Regions from separate parts of the Homo sapiens genome. Here region 1 is linked to region 2. The links are contacts of gene promoters, found by promoter capture Hi-C in blood cells and fetal thymus (Javierre and others, 2016). All regions are on one chromosome and are shown on one strand. Each heading gives the region's core, a stretch centred on a gene start or on the middle of the fragment in contact. The rest is flanking DNA. Distances are from core to core; before and after follow the strand shown. Region 1 overlaps LOC102467217 (a long non-coding RNA gene). Region 2 holds the start of ARL14EPL (ARF like GTPase 14 effector protein like).

What was found. Contacts are between HindIII fragments. The CHiCAGO score rates a contact against its expected background, and 5 or more counts as called.
Region 1: a fragment that was not itself captured here is called in contact with the fragment with the promoter of ARL14EPL in region 2 in 2 of 17 cell types (naive CD8 T cells and naive B cells); the score reaches 6.3 in naive CD8 T cells.

The regions. Positions count from the first base shown.
Region 1 is chr5:115,658,683-115,662,582 of GRCh38, forward strand. The region is part of intron 3 of LOC102467217 (a long non-coding RNA gene); the gene reads right to left. Among named protein-coding and RNA genes, the nearest start is that of TMED7-TICAM2, 35 kb to the left of the region's middle. The HindIII fragment of the contact is 2,908 bases long and covers 1-2,857 here.
Region 2 is chr5:116,031,149-116,035,089 of GRCh38, forward strand. It overlaps ARL14EPL (ARF like GTPase 14 effector protein like), which reads left to right and starts at 1,324. Exons shown (of 4, transcript NM_001195581.2): 1 at 1,324-1,357. RefSeq lists an enhancer at 919-968. The HindIII fragment of the contact is 15,754 bases long and covers 1-3,941 here.

The DNA.
Region 1 (3,900 bases), core at 154-2,653, 370 kb before region 2:
CTTTCTTAAACAGGACACTAAAAGCACTGCCAATGAGAGAAAAAAAAAGATTTCATTGAAGTACAAACTTTTGTTAATAAAAAGAGATTATTTAGAGAGTGAAAAGACAAACTACCAACTGAGAGAAGAAATTCACAATACATATATCTGTTAAAAGACATATGCAGAATATGCAAAGAACTCTTACAACTCAATTATAAAAAGACAATAATGCAATTTAGAAATCAGAAAAAGGTTTGAATTAACATTTCATAAAAGAAGATATGCAAATGACCAATTAGCATATAAAAAGGAGTTCAGAATTATAGTCAGCAGGTAAATGAAACATGAATGACATTAAGGTACTACGCTTCACACCAAAATAAGTAAAATTTAGAAAAAAACTGACAATACCAAATATGATGGAACGTGGAATGACCAACTCTCACACATATACTGGTGGGAGTGTAAGTTGGTAAAAACCACTATGAAAAACAATTTGGAAATATCTAATAAAGCTAAATATATGTCTATTCTATAATTCAAAAATTCTACTGCTAGCTATATTCCCAACAGAAATGAGTAAAAATGTCCAGCAAAAGACATTTATAAGAACTTTCATACTAGTTTTACTCATAATAGCCCCACACTGGAAGCAATACAAATATGACTTGAGAGTAGAATGGACAAATAAGTATATTCATTGTCAGTAATGGAGAGGGGGAAAAAACCTGTTGCTTTAATATGAATAAATCTCACAGACATAATGATGAGTGAAAGAAATCAGTCACAAAATGGGACACATGGTTCCTTCTAGATGATATTAAGAAGAGGTAAGACTAATCCATGGTATTAGTCAATAGCGGTTATCTCTTGGGGGGTATTTTGGGGAAAGAGGTATAGAAAAGTTCTTTGGGTTGCTGGAAATGTTTTATATCTTGATCTGGGCAGTAGCTACACAAGTGTAGACATATGTAAAATTCACTGAGTTATTCACTTAATTATGCACTTTATATATAATAAGCCTTCATAACAATGTTTCTTAAGTCACAATAAAATTTTAATGAGAATTATAAAATATTTAGAACTGGATGACATAGAAAGCACTGCATGTCAAAACTTGTGGGATACAGCTAATGCAGTACTTAGAAGGCAATTTATAGCCTTAATTGCATATATTACAAAACAAGAAAGATGAAAAATTAATGAGCTATTCAACTAAAAAATTGCTAGAAGAAGGACCATAGAGAAACTCCAAACAAAATAGAAGAAAGAATATATGTTGAAAGTAGAAATTAATACAATATAAAACAAAAATAGTAGTACAGAAGATGACAAACACAGAAAGAGAGAACGATAAATAGAAACTATGAACAAATGAAGAGCAGAAATGAGTTAGTAGCTACAAAAACAGAAGAAACAGAAGCACCATAATGGTTGGATACTACAGGAGGAAGCATGCCAGACTCTAAGACTCCAAGATGTGGCAAATTTTTAGAGTGGCTATTTTGCTCCAGAGTTGCAGTCAGACTGCTGGAGCTACAGTTGTGTAGGAATTATGCTGCATTTCTCCATGAAAATGGTTGAGACTATTTCTCATCTACTTTATTTCCACACAAATGATTGCAATAAAATCTTGACCCTAGATATAACTTGAACTTTAACTCTTGCAACCTGTTACATTTACCCAATTGACATCCTTTCTCTCTTCTTTTGCTAACCGCATACAATTCAGCATTCTGGGATGCACCCCCCACATTTTATGATTACATATGAGTCTTGTTTCCTGAGATGCAGGCCCGACCCCCTTCCCAGCCAAGCCAATCAATGTCATTCCTATGGATGGCTTTTCCTAAAACCACTGGGAAGAAGGCAATCTTTTTTTCCTTAAGGTTACTAGCTGGGTCGAATTAGACCCAGAGTTACTGAAGACTATCTTTCCAAAACAACGAAAATAATGCCTTGCCTGAGAATGAAGTTGACATAGAGGAAAGCAGAGCAGAGATGGGGAATGAGGCAGCAAGGTGTAAGAGAGACTGATTGCTAACAATATTGTTAAGGCCCTGGATCCAGCCATGGCTGGACCCATAATCAATTGCTTTTTTGCTTAAACTAGTTTGTTTTAGATGTCTGCACTTGCAACCCAAATTGCCCTAATAGCAATAATTGACCAGTATTAAAAAAAAAAATCTGTCTCAACATTTTTTTTTAAATCTCACCTGCTCACAGGATCTTCATATAGGTTTCCCTTAGTGTTACACTTACATTTTCTGTTCAAATTAGTGCCTGTAAGATGGTTCTATATTATGCATCAACATATTCAAAGTCTTTGCTAAATTGCAGATTCAAAGTTTTTGCTAGATTACAAGTTTTAGAAGATTCACTCAATGGGTTTAAGTTTAAATTTGAGAGAAGAATAAAATAATCTAGCAAAGCCCATGTTCATTCAGTACAGGTAATACAAATAGAGCTTTTCTGAGGAATCATTGTCTTCTGTGGAGCCTCTGTGTGCAGGCTGCTAAAACGAGATTTACAATTACTGGCACAATCAAAACGCTCAGAATGATTGGGGCTCTTAGAAACTGTTGAACTCTCACGGTTTTCCAAATACTTGGCATTCAACTCATCTGAATATCACCCTCAATTTCCCCCACAGAATCTAAGAGTAAAGAAAATAAAATCTCATTGCCAACAGAGCCAGCAGAATGAGTGCTGAGCTAATCTCCATTTCACCCTGTGACCTACCCCCAGACTGAGCGAGCCCTCAGCCAACACTCATAAATGTGCTCTCCTCCAGAGAAAAAGCTCAGCATTCCTACACTAGAGATTCTGAACAGATTTTCTGGTGCTTTCAAATAATACAACATGGCTCTAAGAAAGCTTAGAGTTTTTATTGTTACAGTTTTCAATTCCAATTTTAATAGAGTAAATTTTGACAGCAAATCTTTCTTCTTAGTTAATGCTTACCAGTGGTTAATTGGACATAATTTTAGAGACTGTAGATGACTGGATTACTCTTCCCTCAAAAGCAGAATCTTAACTAATGAAATGTACAGCTTCCTGAAGGAGGCTATTCAAAGAAAAACCCTGCAGTCTCCAGGCAAACAAGTCCTCTCACAATGGCTTTGATGGATTTTGTGTATAGAATTTTCCTCTCTGACTGGACTAAGCAAGTCGCATTCTTTCTTAAGAGATGCTGAAAACTAACTACTTTTCAGTAACAACCAATAGAAGTATTTCTTTCAGCTTGCTGCCTTGTTCATTTTATTTCTAAAAACTGATAGCACAGTATCGATATAAGGCTCTATACTGAATCCCTTTTACAAATATTAAATTATTGGAGTAAAGTCAGATAAGACTACATATAAAGTTCTACCAAGAGGTGAAAAAACAAGAAGCATATTTGCCTCCTATCAGGAGTATCTGTGACTTAATACTTGTAAGTAAACTTCTGCAAAAAAAAAAAACCAAAAAAACATTTTTTTTTCTTTTGACCAAGGCTCATCATTGTATCTCTGGCATCTTATGTCTTTCTTGAGTAAGTGGATTAATGAATGGATAAATTTTGGTTCATCATGGGGTTGGCTTTTAAAAAATTATACTCTGGCATTTAAGATAAATTTATTATTTATTTGTACCATTCTAATAACTTTGGTGTCAAATAGTTTGCAGTTTAATCTTTGCTGTTTGAGGTTAAGTAGAAACCTTTGTTTTATTAGAGCCTCAAGGTGTCTCTTTTAAAGGAATTGTTCCCTTCTTAGATTTTTGTCCAAGAATCCTAAAGAGTGGTAGAAAAGGAAAATACAATATTCATCATCTTCCTTGGAACTGGCCGGTAACGGTGTAGCCTGAGAAAAATGTCCTGTTCATTAATCGGTGGTAGTCTTGGGGATGCGTAAACAGATCTTTGCACGATGCTGA
Region 2 (3,941 bases), core at 74-2,573:
ATGACAAACTACATTGTTACTCTTGTTATACTTCTAACAAAACTGCATAACATGAATCTAATAATGAAGAAAAAACAAACTGAGGGACATGTCACAAAAATAATATCCAAGTCTCAAGGTCATGAAAGTCAAGGAAAGACAGAGGATCTGTTCTAGACTGAAGGAGCTTAGAGACATGACAACTGAATGTAGTGTGTGGTCCTGAACTGGTTCCTTTCGCCATAAAAGACTAACATTACTGGGACAATTGGCAAAACTTGGGTGGAGTCTGAAGATTAGATGCTATCATTGTTAATTTCTCAACTTTGATGGCTTGTTGTATTTATGTAGAAAATATTTTGGTTGTAAGAAATATACATGAAGGAGTGAAGCAGTAACCTATTGATTCAGGAAAAAAAATATTTTTATAGTAACTCCAGCTTTTCTGTAAGTTTCTGAATAAATTAAACTTAAGATAAATAAAGTTTATCATCTATTTGTTACTGGAACTGCAATGCACTTTCATTTCAAGTCACTTTTTTCTTTCAAATTTGGTAATGGCCACAGCCACAATCCTGAAGTTATCTACTAAGCATTTTAATAATTATGCCCAAGTTGGAAATTCAAGTTGTCCGAAAAGACTTAATTTCTTGTTTCAGTCAACGCTTCCCATCTTCAACCAGAGGAACTAAAAACTAAAAATTTTAAAATGTGTTACTCTAAATTAACAAAGCTATATAAATGAAAAATAAATGTAAGTCATTACACTTTTAAATAAAACTTGTTTGAAACTTTTATATAAAAGTCTGTAGTGTTTATACTTCTAAAAATATTAAATCTTACAATTTCACTAAGCCTTTTGGGAAGACTTTTACATATACATGGGTGAATCATGTAACTTGAAATTATTATGCTAACAACTTGACTTAGTCCATGTTACAGTTATAGCTAATAATATTTTACCATTTTGTATAATCAGTACACGTCTAGATGTATAGTAAAGTAGTCTTCCCTTAGCTGCAGTTTCATTTTCCACAGTTTCAGTTACTCGGGGTCAACTATAGTTCAAAAATATTACATCACTACCCTGTGTTTTGGGGCCACTATTAAGTACAATAAGGGTCACTTGAACACAAGCACTGCAATACTGCAACAGTTGCTCTAATCGCCAAGGTGACTACGTGGTGACTCATTGCCATCCAGTGGGCCGAAGCAGGAGGGCAAGAGATTTCATCGCACCACTCAGAACAGTGCACAGTTTGAAACTTAAGAGTTGTTTATTTCTGGAATTTTCCATCTACGTCACAATACCTGTGTTATTGCCCTCACTTCATCCCATCACGTAGCCATTTGACCATTTTACATCATCATAAGAAGCGTGAGTACAGTACAATAAGATATTTTGAAAGAGAAAGATACCATATTTGCATATTTTTAATTACAATGTATTGTTATAATTGTTCTATTTTATTGTTAGTTACTGTTGTTAATTTCTTACTGTGCCTAATTTATAAATTAACTTTATCTTAAGTACATATGTACAGGAAAAACCGTAGTGTATATAGAGTAGGATACTATCCATGGTTTCAGGCATCCACTGGGGACCTTGGAAGGTAGCATATAATTCCTGATACATAGCTGTGTATTCTGAGTTTTTTGTTGTGGTGGTTTTTGTTTTTGTTTTTTTGAAACAGGGTGTCAGTCTGTCAATGCAGGCTGGAGTGCAGTGCTGCCATCTCCGCTCGCCGCAGCCTCGACTTCCTGGGCTCAGGTGATTCTCCCACCTCAGCCTCCTGAGTAGCTGGGACTACAGGTGTGCACCACCATGCCTGGACAATTTTTTGTATTTTTAGTTGAGATGGGGTTTCACCATGTTGCCTGGGCTGGTCTTGAGCTCCTGGGCTCAAGTGATCCACCTGCCTCAGCCTGCCAAAGTGCTGGGATTCCAGGTGTGAGCCCCCACACCCGGCCTATAGCTATGTATTCTTAATTGTTACACTCTAGTAGAAGTGAAATAACAACTCTCTGCTAGGTACATATTACCACCTCCTTTTACTACAGGAAATCCCCGACTTACCGTGGTTTGAGTTACTATTTTCATACTTTCCAGTGGTGCAAAAGTGATACAAATTCAATAGTAACCATACTTTGAGTACCTACAGAGCTATTCTATTTTTTTCACTTTTAGTGTAGTATTCCATTAATTACATGAGATTTTCAACATTTTATTATAAAATAGGCTTTGTGTTAGATGATGTTGCCCAACTGGAGGCTAATGTAAGTGTTCTCAGAACATTTGAGGTAGACTATGCTAAGCTATGATGTTTGGTGCATTAAATGCATTTTCAACTTACTATAGGCTTATGGGGACATAACTTCATCATAAATTAAGATCACCTGTAATTTTTTCACTGAAGAAAATCTAACTAGATGAATAAAATTATCTTGATTTGGGTGGTACAACATGACTTCAAAATTCTAAATGGAATTTAGAGGCACAGAATGAAAAAATGAAAAATACAGGTAGATATTATCTACTCTATTTTAAAAATGTAGATCCTTGGATCAAGATTTTCAAAATAATAAGTTGCAGGCTTTTTAGTACAAACTCTTTCTACCCAAGCTATATTCTTAAAAGTATATTATAACTTATTTTGTTTGCTAAAAAGTTTGTTTCGTGAAAAAAAGGCTGTGTGTGTATTTAAAATAGAGTATATGTTTGTGGGAATAGTGTGTATGTGAACACTTGCCTGTCCTCAGCTGAACTGCGCTTTAATTATTTTGATTGCCATGGAAAAGAAATAGCACGATATAAAGGCTTCCTCACTTTCTTTGCTTTCTCTCACAAACAATGCCAAGCAATGAGATGAGGCTGTCACCTTCTCTGCTCTCAGGTTTCTACTGAAAGTGGACTATTTTGATGACGTGATGAGTCCTAGACTCTCAGGATTCACAGATACACATCAGAGGATTAAAGGGGCTCTAAGCATGGGGTTTGTGAGAGTTTTGGGTTTTCTATCCTCTGTGAAATGATCACCTTGTCTTTGAAAATAGTTCTTTAGTGTTAGCATGTCTTACTTGAGATCAACAAAGGCGGTTAGTCCCATCATTTCCTTTGGGTAGGGACAATCCTTAGTGATGCCAGGGCTCTCAGGGTTCATTTAGGAGATTGTCCTGAGAATGCCCCGTAACAGAGAATACCTATGGTTTCTTCCAGAAAGTGTTCCTTTGACTTGTCAATAGTGAGCAGGAGGCCTTTCTGATCACTTAGCACTAGAGGGTGGCCTCAGTATTTATGAACTCCTGTGAGAGGGCGGCAGGATGAAAGTACTAGTAGTAGCACTAGAAATGAAGTATTATTTATTTCTTCACAAGGTTGATGTTTTCCTTCACTTCCCCCAACACATACCCCCATTTTTAGAGAAATGTTACCTCCTTTTATAAATAAGTTCAGAGAGAAGTTTTGACCTGCTCAACTAGAAGTAGTACAACGAAGTAGGGAAGAGATGTGATCAGCAGGAAAATTCTTCTACCTGCTGAGTGTCTTCTGTGGGTGATATACCATTTGAGCTATGTGCTATATATGCCTTGTCTCAGCCTCAAAATACCCCTATGAGGCAGTGTGTCCAGTAGGCTTCAGTTAGAAAAACAGAAACCAGACTAATTTTGTTTGTTTGTTTTAGCAAAGAGATTTCAATGTTAAGGATTTGTTAAACAAGTATTAGAGAAGTGAAAAAACAAAAGAAGAACCCCAAGTTATAGCTCAGGAACTAGTTCTCAGTCTCAAAACGGGGGAATAATGGGCAAAGGTTAAAGTTACTAGAATGTAGAAGTTTGGATGAAGGAGTATAAGATTTTCATTTTGTTTGATTTCACCCAGATGTCCTTATTCCAAATCTCAGGATCTCTCTCCTTCCCAATCAATGTTCTAATGCTTGCACTTGAGCCTTGGCAAGGCTCTG